2 separate regions of the Homo sapiens genome follow, and region 2 is linked to region 1. Evidence: promoter capture Hi-C in human tissues and cell types (Jung and others, 2019). All regions are on one chromosome and are shown on one strand. The core of a region is centred on a gene start or on the middle of the fragment in contact, and the rest is flanking DNA. Distances in the headings are between cores, read along the strand shown.

Evidence for each region. The method cuts DNA at HindIII sites, captures the fragments that hold promoters and counts their contacts. A contact is called where the count stands out against the background at its distance.
Region 2: a contact is called between a fragment that was not itself captured here and the fragment with the promoter of VIPAS39 in region 1, in 1 of the 25 tissues and cell types used here (lymphoblastoid cells).

The regions. Positions count from the first base shown.
Region 1 is chr14:77,455,042-77,461,849 of GRCh38, reverse strand. It overlaps VIPAS39 (VPS33B interacting protein, apical-basolateral polarity regulator, spe-39 homolog), which reads left to right and starts at 4,249. Exons shown (of 20, transcript NM_001193315.2): 1 at 4,249-4,355. It overlaps AHSA1 (activator of HSP90 ATPase activity 1), which reads right to left and starts at 3,757. Exons shown (of 9, transcript NM_012111.3): 1 at 3,581-3,757; 2 at 2,044-2,234. The coding sequence starts at 3,660. RefSeq lists enhancers at 3,501-3,680, 3,406-3,928, 3,851-4,310, 3,929-4,451. The HindIII fragment of the contact is 5,050 bases long and covers 1,881-6,808 here.
Region 2 is chr14:78,562,561-78,569,604 of GRCh38, reverse strand. All of the region lies in intron 4 of NRXN3 (neurexin 3), which reads right to left. Among named protein-coding and RNA genes, the nearest start is that of NRXN3-AS2, 140 kb to the left of the region's middle. The HindIII fragment of the contact is 7,746 bases long and covers 1-5,655 here.

The DNA of each region.
Region 1 (6,808 bases), core at 3,000-5,499:
AAATATCAATTTATTTCAGTGCAACTGAAATATTAGGGAACAATTTGATTATAATGAGAAGTTCATGTTTGCTTATATGTGACTCCATCCATGAGAAACACTAGGTGAATACGGAAAGCCTCACCCAGCTACACAGGATACATAAAACACACACATCTCAAACACCTATCTGCCAATGACCTCAGTTTACAGCGTGTGTTGTGAGCCATACCCATCCTCAACGAGTGTAATGTTCCCTCTGATTGTGGATGACTCTCCTTCTACCATTCCATAGTAGTCCTCAAGCTGCAACCCTTCTGATGCCCACCTTTTCCCCCCGCAAGACAGAGTCTTGCTCTGTCGCTCAGGCTGGATTGCAGTGGCATGATCTTGGCTCATTGCAACCTCCACCTCCCAGGTTCAAGCAATTCTTCTGCTTCAGCCTCCCAAGTAGCTGGGATTACAGGTGCGTGCCACTACACACGGCTAATTTTTGTATTTTTTAGTAGAGATGGGGTTTCACCATGTTGGCCAGGTGTGTCTCCAATTCCTGACCTCGTGATCCACCTGCCTCAGTCTCCCAAAGTGCTGAGATTACAGGCGTGAGCCGCCGCGCCTGGCTTTGATGCCCACTTTCACAAATAAACTTCAGGTCTTTTTCATGGTAAAGCACCATATTTATTGTAGTATTCACCTATTTTTTATTTTTTTTGAGATGGAGTCTCACTCTGTTGCCCAGGCTGGAGTGCAACGGTGCGATCCCAGCTCACTGCAACCTCCGCCTCCTGGGTTCAAGCGATTCTCCTGCCTCAGCCTCCCGAGTAGCTGGGACTACAGGCACATGCCACCACGCCGGGCTAATTTTTTGTATTTTTAGTAGAGACGGGGTTTCACTGTGTCAGCCAGGATGGTCTTGATCTCCTGACCTCGTGATCCGCCCACCTTGGCCTCCCAAAGTGCTGGGATTACAGGCGTTAGCCACCACGCCCGGCCTATATTTATCTATTTCTTACCATTTAATGTGCACAAAACTATGCTACCAATTTTTAGTCCCTATATTAAAAAAAAAAAGCGTCGGCCAGACACAGTTCGAGACCAGCCTGGCCAACATGGTGAAACCCATCTCTAATAAAAATACAAAATTAGCCGGGCGTGGTGGCGGGCACCTGTAATCCTACTTGGGAGGCTGAGGCAGGAGAACTGGTTAAACCCGGGAAGTGGAGGTTGCAGTGAGCCAAGATCGTGCCACTGCACTCCAGCCTGGGTGACGAGCAAAACTCTGTCTAAAAAAAAAAAAAGGAGGTCTGAGCAAGATGACACCGAAGATTCCTTCCACACTACTATGCTTCGAGTGTACTTTAAAAACAAATTAACAAAAATCATGGACAGATAGATCTACTTGCACCCTTCTTTATGATATGACTGTTCACTTCGGAAATGTTTATCAAAGCACAAATTTCATGCTTTGCCCCATACACAGACAGTAGCTATCTCATACTCCCTTAGCTTTAGTGCCTTTTTACATTCAGGCTCCCGACAGTCAGGACTGTCCAAAACGGTCATACGCATGACCTCAATTTTTTCCTAATGTCATACACAAGGGACATAAAACTAGAAGATAGATAAAACAGCCCCAAATTACTGTCACACACAAGCTTCATTAGCGCAGTGGTTTAATCTGTTAAGATTCACACTGAAGACAGTGCACAAAGATCAAGACCAAAAAAATCCTCTCCTTCCTCCTTTTAAATCACTCACAAGATACATGTAGCTAGTCTGAAGAAATATCATCGTAGGTGTCCCAACAAAGACCAAGGCCCAAAGATGCAGTGGCCCGGCCACTTCATGGATGGGACTTATGAGACCCAGACACAGGAAATCCATTTAGCATCCCACAATGGCAAAGAAATTCCAGGACTCGATACTGCTTTACATAGGACTCCAAAGCAGCAACATCTGCCTTCTCCCTTCAAGGTCTGTAACTCCTCAAAACTGTTCTCTCCAGCTACTTAACAGGTTAAACAAAACACAGTTAATCTCTCTGACAGCCCAGCTTAGACTTACCTGTCCAGTTTAGTTTGACGCTCCATTCATAAAAGAAGATAAGTTTCCCTTTGCGATTGTTAATGGATGCCTCTCCATCAAGCTTACTCACTTCCGTCACCTCACACTTGCCTTCTTCATTTTGAACCTGCACTGCCAGGAACAGTGTTTTCAGCTTATCCGTGGACCAATTTGAAGCATCTCTCTCCGTCCTGCAAAGCAGAAACAGAGCTATGAACCAGCAGTCAAACGGAGGATACGCTGCTCTATGCAAGAGAATACGAGGTTAAAGGAGGCCTGACAAATAGTTTGAAAAGAACACAAAAACTCCCAGTCGCACTCCAGTATGTCCACAAACATGTCATTCTTTTTTAGGAAGACAAGGGGTTGCACACTGTCAACAAAGACAGCTGCTGTAGAAAATGGTATAAACTCAATGGAAAATTATGCTCTCCTTTCTCGGCATGATGGTGCGGGGGAATACTTGATACTTTAACATGGCGCCCCCATTTGACCAAGTGGAAAACTGCACATATTGCTGAGATCAGGAACACAGACTGGACCATGAAAGAATAGTACTTAGCTAAAAGGCCCAGAAAGGATTAAACCAATAACCCTGACCTCATTGGCACGGTGTTCTGACCTATCAGATTCGCACTTGCATTATAAACTTCCTACACATTCACTGTCCCCTAGATGGCCACAAAAACGTTAAGTCCAGGGCTTCAAAACAAACAACAAAAATTAGGTCAAGTACTCTGCATGTTAAGAAGAGAGAATACAAAGTGAGATATGGAAAAGAAACATCACTATCTGCCTTCCTACTTATCAACTATTAGAGAAAACAACAGCAAAAAAGGCTGCAACAAAGTAACGGTACAATACAAACATTACGAAAAAAGTTCAGTGGAATTCAAAAATAAGGAAACTAATATTACTTTGGGAAGATTTCATGAAGGAGGGCAGTTATTTTAAGAACGGTCAGGTTATAAAACCACGGCTGCTCGGCAACCTGGAGTTCCAACACACCCGACCTGATAGTTCCGGGTGAGAGGCCGCAGCTATCTGAGCTCTGAGCACCTGCACAACACGTTCTCAATCTCCCGCGGGACCGCTGCAGCGGTCCCCTATGAATGACTTTTAATTTTACCGCAGGCCGCAAAATAGGAATTACAGACCCCTGGCCTTAGGCCTTTCACAGCTATCTCCCAACACAATCAAAGGAGGTTCCAGTCTCAGTGACTCCTCTGGCCACGTGTAATAAGCACCTCCCTGCTCGGGCTGGATGCAGCAGCCAGGGCGTTATCTCCTAGTCTCTCTGACAACCCTCCTCTGGGGCGCAGCCCTCCACGTCCATCTCCCTCCCCTCAAACACTGAGAAGGTGACCGCGGAGTGGAGAGGCCTGGGGCTACGGACCCCTGCCACAGGAAGGACCCACCCCCATCTCCGGACAGGGCTACCTCAGCCCCAGCTCTGTCCGGGCCGAGGTTCTAGGAACCCTGAAACCCTGGCCCGGCCGCAGGTCTCCCAAGGCCGGCCTGCTTTTCTGGCCCTCACCAGTGCCAGTTGTTGACGTTGGTGGCGTCCGCCCGCTCCTCCACGATCCAGCGTGGGTCTCCCTCACCCCACTTGGCCATCGGCTCTCCTATCGCGGCGCCACCAGCTCCGGAGCAGCCGTAGCCACAGCCTCAGGACCGCTTAGTGCCAGCCGCCCGGCAGCGCCTGGAAACTACTAGAAGCGGCCGCAAGCACCTCCTGGCTTGCTTTTCCCTCCACCCCCTCCCCTCCTTAACTTCCGGCTCCTCCCCACTCCCACCGGTTACTTCCGTCCCAACTCGCCGCACCGTGGGTTCCGCCTGATTTAGAGATCCTTCAGACTCCATCGGGTTCTCCCCAAAAAGCGTCCCGAAACCCAACTGCTCATACAACCATTCCTCACCCATAGGAAAACAAAGAACACGTCTCATTGCTTCCCTGGACCCTAAATCGCCCTTGCTGAGCCTCATGGGAATTGTAGTCTTGCTACGTGACTCGCTGGATAACCGCGGAAGGTCTCGCGGAAAGGAGAGGAAATGACCTAGCACGGTGCTTGGGGTTTCTGGGGGCTGTAGTCAAGAAGCCTTGTGGTTCGTCGGGACAGCGCCTGACAGCAGAGGCAGAAGAAACTACGACTTCCAGCATGCCCTGCGGTCTCGTTATTCGTGTTTTCTCTCCGCCCTACGATTATTCCCTTCCGCCCCCTTCTCTAAGCTGCACAGCCTGAATAGAAGGGCTGGTCCAGCGGCGGCGGAGGCTGGCGCTGTCCTGAGAGGGAGGGCTCTGTGCGGAAGAGGTGAGGGTGTCCCAAGCCCCTTGGGTCGCGTATCTGGCTGGATCCAGCCTCTCCGCATCTTGATCTTTTCCCCTCTTCTAGGAGGCATCCCTACACCCTATGACTACAGGCCTGATTCTCTTCTTTCAGTCAGGGCGACCCTTGGGCGCTGGAGTACGCTTGGGACTGGGGCTGCGAGTGAGCACCAGCGATTGGTTCGGAAGCGGACATTTGGTTCAGAACGAGCATTTAACTCTGCCAGGGATCCGCTGGGCTCTGACGACTGCGGTAGATCCATGGCTTCCTGGACGTTCACCCGTAGAGTCATCCTAGCTTAACTCTTGTTCCCTGGTCTCAGTTCACAAGCCTCACCTGTATCTTCCTGGCTCGGAAGATAATTGAAACCAAGTCTGACTTCTCAGTAGGTGGTTTTTGGAGTTTTCTGAGGCAGGGAGCATGTTGTGGTTTTCTTGCTGATTCTTCTGTTTTCCTTTGTAAAGTTCCTGTTCTCCCCTGAGGTCTCTCACCCTGCCTTGTGGGCTGTCAGTAAACAAGAGACGATAAAGACAAACCTCTGAAGTATTTTAAATCATGTTGAAGCACCTGTCACTCTTAAGAGTGACAATCGTACCTGATTACTTTATAACTCTAGAGCCACTAGATCATTATCTATACTTGCCAAGTAAACCTAGCTTCTCATTTGGCGTTATAAATACAAATTGATGGCAGTTGTCTACTGCCATTGCATGGTTAAAAAGATTCCAGAAATCCTCTGGTAGATTATTGTGTTTGTTAGACACATTCTATGTCTATCTGTAGATAATTACTATAGTGAAGGAATGATCTCTAGTTTTCTGGAAAGTGAAAAATAGGTAGAAGGACCATGCAAGACACTAGAAATGGTCTAGGAGCCAGAAAGCCTGGATTGTAATTTGAAATAGGAGCATTTAACAAAGTGGCTTTGATACTGAACTCTTTTGTGCCTCACTTTCCCCATGAGTAACATGGAAATGGAATCTCCCAGGCCTACCTTACAAGATTGTTCTGAGGATCAAACGAATGACAGAGTGATTTATGAACTGACATGTGTGCCAGAGACATTTATATGTTCTATACACATCTTCAGCATTTGTGGCTACTCAGAATTTTTGTATTTTTTTTAATCTTTAGGATTGCTAAAAAATATTTTCTTTTTTAGCTTTTCCCAAGGTACCAGGATGATGTATTAATAATAAAAGTTACTATTGAGTGTTAATTTTGGGTCAGGCACTAAGCACTTTACATGTATTAACTGGTTTACTCCTCAGAACCATTTCTAAGGTAGGTCATCTGTTATGCCCATTTAACAGACGGGAAAACCAAGACAGAAAAATGTCAGTATGATATTCCATATTAAAAGGAAATAACATTTAGTATTTACTTTCTGCTAGACACTTTTATAGATGTTCCCTGCAACCCTGTGAGATAGGATATAATTTTCTCCAAGGCTTAGAAGTAAAGTCATTTATCCACTTTGCTCAGAATTAAGAGAAACCAGGATTTGAACTCAAGGTTGCCTGACTACAATGTCTGTGTGGGATGATTTCATGGTGTCTGCCAGCATTTTTGGTTTATCTCCCTAAAATTAAATACAGAAAAGGATTTTTAAACAACCCTGTACCAGTAGAAATCAATTAGTGATGTCTGCCGTGAGAAGGGACCAGATAGTAGAAAATCCCCACAATACCCTTGCTATCCCTATATCCCCTGAGTTGAAAACAAAGTCAGGAAGTAACAGTAGAGTATCTTTAAGGGCTATCAAAAGCCTCAACAGGACTACCATGACAAGGCTTTTCTCAAGCTTTTATTGATGAAGGTGCTATTAAAAGGAAAAGCAAATGGTTCTTTTAGAACTTGATGCTGTTTAGCCTTTACAGTTATTTTTGGTGCTGTGGGAGTTTTATACCCAGTCCTTGGCTTAAATCATAGTTTTCATTCTAATCCTGTTGGCATTGATAGTTTACTTTGTAATTCTGTTTCCTTATTTGGAGATAGGGAGGGTCTCACTGTGTCACCCAGGCTGGAGTGCAGTGGTGTAATCTCAGCTCATAGCAGCCTCGACGTCCCAAGCTCAGGTGATCCTCCCACCTTAGCCTCCCAAGCAGCTGGGACTACGTCACCATGTCCAGCTAGTTTTTTGTTTTGTTTTTTAAATTTTTTTGTAGAGACAGTTTTACAATGTTGCCCAGGCTAGTCTTGAACTTGGGCTCAGGTGATCCTCCCACCTCAGTCTCCCAAAGTGCTGAGATTACAGATATGAGCCACTGTGCCCTGCCTAGTTTGTAATTCTAGGGCAAAACTTGTTTTTGCAGGGCAAAATTGAATTTTATAGTAGTTATAACAGGGACTTGTGGTCTTTTGACTACTTCTTTATATACTTGCTTTTCTTGGCCATCCCCTCATTTCTCAAATTTTGGCCAACAGTTGTTAATAAA
Region 2 (7,044 bases), core at 533-3,032, 1.1 Mb before region 1:
GTGACAGAGGGAGACTCCATCTCAAAAAAAAATAAAAGGCGGCCGGACGCGGTGGCTCACCCCTGTAATCCCAGCACTTTGGGAGGCCGAGATGGGTGGATCACGAGGTCAGGAGATTGAGACCACCCTTGCTAACATGGTGAAACCCCGTCTCTACTAAAAATACAAAAAATTAGCTGGGCGTGGTAGTGGGCACCTGTAGTCCCAGCTACTCAGAAGGCTGAGGCAGGAGAATGGCGTGAACCCGGGAGGCGGAGCTTGCAGTGAGCCGAGACCACGCTGCTGCACTCCAGCCTGGGTGACAGAATGAGACTCTGTCTCAAAAAATAAAGAAAAGGCCGGGCACAGTGGCTCATGCCTGCAATCCCAGCACTTTGGGAGGCCGAGGCGGGAAGATCACCTGAGATCAGGAGATCGAGACCATCCTGGCTAACACGGTGAAACCCCATCTCTACTAAAAATACAAAAAATTAGCCAGGCGTGGTGGCTGGCGCCTGTAGTCCCAGCTACTCAGGAGGCTGAGGCAGAAGAATGGTGTGAACCTGGGAGGCAGAGCTGGCAGTGAGCCAAGACCGCGCCACTGCACTCCAGCCTGGGTGACAGAATGAGACCCTGTCTCAAAAAAAAAAAAAAAAAAAAAAAACCTGCAAAGTCATATTTCCCACCACAGACCTGCTGAATCAGATTCTCTGGGGAAGAGCACAGCTATCTACCAGTGTTTCTGGTAGAAGCTCTGCCAGTGTTTCTCATGCCCACTAAAGTTTAAGAACCACTACCCTATAGCAGTGTCTCCAGATGTTGTGGTATGTTTTCCCTGGAGGGTGTGACACATTTGCCACATGATGAACTTTAGGAAAAAATATTTAGCTCTTAGATATTCATTTCAATATGCAGTCAGTAAAAAACCTGGCTAACACATTGAACCCAGGATTTCAAAGACATATTGCTTGTAAGATGATGCCAAATCTACTTAAGTCAAACAAGATAATCGGTGTAAAGAAAATCAATACTGTTGTAGGGAGTTATGGTGAAAATAGTGAACCTGATACATAAATTACCAAAGTCTGGGATACCTGGTATACCTCCAGTTCCAGCTATAAACTGGATATCTCAATCTGTTCAGGTGGCTACAACAAAATGCCATAAACTGGGTAGCTTATAAACAACAAAAATTTGTATCTGACAATTCTGGGGGCTTGGAAGTCCAAGATTAAGGTGCTGGAAGATTTGGCATCAGGTGAGGGCTACCTCCTGGTTCATAGATGGTGGCTTCTAGTTCTTCTTCTGTCTTTCCATGGTGGAAGGGGTGAACAAGCTCCCTTGGGCCTATTTTATAAGAGCACTAATCCCAAAGCACTCATGACTTACTAACCTCCCAAAAGGCCCCCCTCCTAATACCATCACATTGGTGATTACGTTTCAACATGTAAATCTGAGGGAGGGACACAGACATTCGGCACTGAAGATCAGAACATGAGCCCCACTTCCAACTGAGCTCCCCTACCAGCATCCACTGCTCTCTCCAAAATCCCCTCTACCCGATACCTCAATTTAACCTCAGAACCTCTGTCCATGGCTTTCAATGCTAAATAAAACTGAGAAGGAGAGGGATGTGTAGTTCTATCTTCTCTGATAGAATAAGATCATGAAAACCCTGAATGAAAGGAATGATGGAGATGGAAACACGATGAAAGTGGAAAAGGGCTCAGGATTGGAAAGCTGCAGGCAACGAAGATGAATTCTGCCATCTTCTCCAGTTATAAGTCCCAGTGTCACTCACCATATTCCTGTGCACTTAGAGGCCAAAGACCTCCACGTTGGCAAGATTAAAATGAGAAGGGGTAGTCAGGGCTGACATCATAATTTTTCTACTACTAATAATAATAATGTTTATTTACTATTATTATTATTCATAATAAAGCCATTTAAACCCCACTCGATAAGAGGTTTAACAAGCCCATTAAGAACAGGAAACCTATTTCCTGCCTGGCGTTGTTTACACATATAACTAGGAGACACTCACTGGCTGGGGGAGCCCCATTAGCTTTAACCAAGAGTCTTGGCAGGAGCTCATGGAAGAAAATAAATCCCTCAAGCAGAATTACATGTGGTCAGTGAGGTCATCGCTCTTGTTTGGCTGGGCTGCACTCTAGGCTGAAGATCCAGAGATGGAGCAGGGCGACCCCACAGCCATGCTGGAGATAGGCACCCTCTTGTCCTTCTCTCATCCAAAGCCAGCTGAGCACAGTTTACTGGCACAGCCAGCTCTGGGGAAAGTTGAGAAGTGGTGAAGCCAGTTTATTATCTACCTTTCTATGTACTCTTGCCCATTAATGGGCAATATTCCCCACTCCCATCTGGCTTTGCATATTTTTCTGCTGCTTCCTGGTTGCTCAGAATCCCCATTCTATGATGGTTCCTTTAGAGCCAAGAGACTTCCAGGCCCATCCTGCAGCCCCTTCAAGACCCAACTTCTTTTGGTCACCTTCCCTTGAGAAAGAATTGTGTCCTGTAACTAAAGCCATCCATCATATTTAAGGGTCATCCATGGTGGAGTCTCCATACATCATGTCTGACCCAGGTAAAGAGGAGCCAGGAGGCTCCTCTCCCAGGGATGTTCCTCTTGAACAGAGAACTCTGAGGATTCAAGCAATCCTTCCCTAATAGATTCCAAAGTCCTGCCCCCACCTGAAACCACTAGGGAAACACTGTGGTGCAAGGGTTTTCTGAATTGTCCTTCCTTCCTCTGGGCCAAATCACACACTAGCCACAGACTGTGGACTTGGTCTGCATTAAGCTGGTCCCTGGTAGAGCTTAGCACTTTCCACACCGAGTAAAGCTTTCTTCCCAGCAGAGGGCAGCAACGGTCAGAGGCTGGAGCCACTGGTGCGCAGCCATCTCAGAGGGACTCGATAAAATGGGAGGAAAGAAACCAGAGGGAGGAGGAAGGAAGGAAGGTGGGGGCTCGGGGCAAGCACGCAGAGCTCGCTGCTCCTTCACCTTCCACCCTGGTAGGGTCTGGCTCTGTGGCCAGGGCTCCCCATAACCTAACGCTTTCTGGTTGGCCTGTCTCACCCAGCACCGCCAGCTTGGAAGGCTTTGGGTTATTAATCTAGCCCACCCAGCCCCAGCACACTTAAACCTCTTAGCTTTCCCTTACTCAGCTGCTGATGCCACATGGAAAACTTGAAGGAAAAGAAAAGGGGGAGAGAAAAAAAAAAAAACCAACATTTTAGTCTGGGGTAGTTCTGCTTCCATAGCAGATATTTTTTTGCATCCACTTCCTTTCAGCAGGAGCGACATTTACATGAAAACAGAGCTGAGGACAGTAGCCTCCCTGGACCTGAAGTCACCATTTGGCCCTTCTGGGCTGCTGCCAATGCCAGCAGCAGTGTGAGATCATCGGGGGCACCTGTTTTTAGAGAGTCTTTTTTTTGGCCGGCGTTGGGGGCGGGGTGGGAGAGCCGGCATGAGCTTAACACAGGCTCTCAGGACAAGTATGATCAGGAAGTTGGGCACAATTGATCAACCAAAAAAGCAACACGGTTTCATTGAGGCAGAGCTGCCAGTGTGGGGAGGAAGCAAAATCATAACGTTCAGAAATGTTAAAGGGATAGAATCTGTGGAAATCTGAAGTGTTCAAAGAATGACCAGGGTCAAATTTTTGCCAATACTTCACCTCCCGTCTTCTCTGACTCAATTGTTGCTGCCAACCTTTCAGATGTGATTGCTAGGCTATAATACTTTTTCCAGCTTTCATCTATCTGAGAACCAGAATTCCAGCCATGATGAATCCCCAATGCCTCTGCCAGTCTTCTGTAATGTACAGAGGCCTCTATCTACACATAGTGCAGGGCTACATGCAGAACAAACCCCCAAGAAATAGTTGTTGCCTGCCTAATTCCTGACATTCATACAGTGTTTTGCAATATTCAAAGTACTTTTACGTTTATTATCACACTGGCACCTCATAGCAACCTTATAAGGTAGACAGCCATTATTAAATCCATTTTACAAATGGGGAAATTGAGGCATAGAGAGATTAACTAGTAAATGGCAGAGACAGAACAAACTCTTGTGGGATTCTATTCCTGTCTGCTTATGGACTTGAACTTGAAAACACAGCCTGCTGTTCTAATCCCCTTCACCCAATGATCAAGACACCTTGATTTTCAAAGCACTGGATGTGCCAAACCCCAGATGCTTTAAAAATTCTCTCACACTGGAAAAGCTCTCTACCTGAACCTTCAGTTTTAGGGTTCAGTGTGGAGAAAGAGCTTCTGAGAAATCCTGGTGGTAGAGCTCTGTTTACAGGGGAAACAGGAAATTGAAAGGCCTTGTTTTAGGTAAGTTTGTGAATTCCAAATTGAATAGATTGGCACCAAAAGGCAGGCTTCTTAGGATCCTTGCTTTCATTTACTCCTTGATCTATCTACTTAATAAATGAATATTAACTGAGCATCTTCAATGTTCAAGGAACTATCTTAGAATCAAAGGGATAGGAAAAACACACAGGGCACAGTTATCCCTATCAGGTGCTTATAATGTAGTTGTATAGACAACATATGGTCATACAAAATAGCATAAGATAGTATATACCAAGTGCCAAATGAGTGCTGCTGCTGCTGAGCACTTTAGAAATTCAGAGAGGGAACGGCACTGAGTGCGCTGAGGAGGTCAGAAAAGGCTCAGTGGAGGACATGGAACATAATCTGATCCCTGAGCAGGAATCAAAAATATGAAGACAAGATCTAGTGGAAGGGTTCTAAATATAGGGGAGAATACTGACTGAGACCCCCACCATATGTCAAGTACTGTGGTAGGCCTGCACAAGGTTTGGGATGATAGGCAAAACCTACCATGGCGGCCGTGAAGACAACAGCCTAGGGAAACAGTAGATAAGGATATAAAGATTAGTAGGAGATGGAGCTGGAAAATGCAGACCAGATCGAAGGACCTTCATTACCAGGCCAAGGACTTGATTCCAAGAAGGAAAGGTACAATACATAAGTTTCTAACCCATATACCTCCTAGAGAGGAGGCCGGGGTGTTCCATCAGGACCTACAATGTCCCATAGGTGAGGAGTAAGCAGTGGTGCCTGGTAAATTTCTAAACAAACAGAGATTCTGGCTTCATGCAAACATTCTCAGGACAAAGGAAGAAACAGGTAATGGGTGAAGTAGGAGCCCAGTCAGAGCCCAGTCCTACCTAGAGATAGTTAAATAGACATTCTGAGGAGCATTTGTGAGCCTCCAGTGAAGAAGATGTGTGAGGTTGCTCTTGACAGAGCCAAACACTATAACCTTCACACTGAGGCGGGAATAGGAGGAGGGGGACAAAAGAGGGCGGAGACAAAAGATGTTCACTTTAAGTCAGCCAGTTATTGGCATCAAAGCCAGAATTCACCTCCTCTCTCCATTATTATTGTGCTTTATTATTATTATAAGGGAGAAATTGCTATTCACTAGGATTTTTTCCCCCTAAGTATTTTAAATGCTGCTGTAACAGTAAATATCACCTCTGGCATATTTGTCCTGGAAGAAAAGAGTATAATTTGGAATACCTAATTGAAATGTGCTACAGGAGATAAGGCAGCTGCAGAGACTGACATTTAAAGGTAGGAGACACCACGGAAGACATGAAATATTACTGTTGCTGCCTCAAAGCCAAAAGCCACTTTCACAGAATGGAAACATCTTCCAGTTCTGCTTCCTCCTTCTGGGTCCCCCATGATCCCATTCCTCAGACTCACTGCTATAGGGTTCCAGTCATCCCTGCTCTTCCTTTAGAACCCCAACCTGCTTGCATTGAGAATGCTGAAGGGCAGGCAAAAGAGAATGATCTCATCCTAGTTCTCTTTTGCTCTTATGTACCCATCTCAAAATCCTAGGTCTTATTTCTTGATAAATCATTTACATGAAGGTGGATGGGCTAGACACAAAAGGAAAGGAAGAGATCTGTCAGTGCATCTCAGTAGGTCTCATTAAAAAGCTGTTTTATGCCACTGTCGCAGAAACATAGTAAAAGACTAGAGGTTACCTGTGCTTAACGCCCAGCAAGCCCTGCCCATTGATAACTGGACACAGTTACTTTCTAGGGGATGGATCTAGGTAAGAGCTAACTCACTGCTTATTCCCTTCACCCATACACCAGAATAAGGACAACTTGCCAACCAACCATCAGACCTACTGCAATTCAGATTAACCACGTTTTTCATCAAACCTATTTCCGTTATCATTTCTCTATCCATCAAGGTAGCTTGTCTCCAAAGATAGCCCCCCAATAAACCATGACTCCTAATATTTCCCTTTGTGTAGTCCCCTAATCGATGAATATTGGAGAGCCCTTTGCCTTGCTTTTGATCAACAAAATATAGCAAAAGTGACAATGAATGACTCCTGAAGCTAGGTCATAAGAAATTTTATTTTTTCTGCCTGGTTTTCTAAGAATAGTTTTTCTTCAGATAGCCCTTCTTGGAACCCAGTTGCCATCCTGTGAGAAGCCTTGGTCACATGGAGAGATCATGCATAGGTTCTCTCTGGCTGAGTTATCTCATCAACTGCCAGCTATTTATGTGAATGAGGTACCTTGGATGTCCCATCTCATCCAGACACCAAATGATTGCAGCCTCAACTGAAGTCACATAAAGTGGAAAAACACTCAACTGATTACAGTTATTTCTTAACTAGAAAAATTACTTAGGATCGTTAAGGCCATATCTTATTTACACTCTTTGTTAGACAAAATGGCTTTCAAGAGTCTTAAGGATTTTCCTCTAGCACAAATTTCTATTATGGTTATCTATCACTTTATATTTTTAAGAAAACTATTCCAAAATATAGTGGCTTAAAACAATGTTATTTCTCATGGTGCTATGAGTTGGCTGGGGTCAATTGAGTGGTTTAATCTTGGAACCTCTCATGTGGTTACAGTCCATTGTAGCCTGGGCAGGATGTGCAAGCTGGTTTCTTCATTCCCATGCCTGGGACCTCCTGGGCCTCTTTCTTGCCTCATGGGTTATCTCTTTCCCCAAGGCCTCTCCA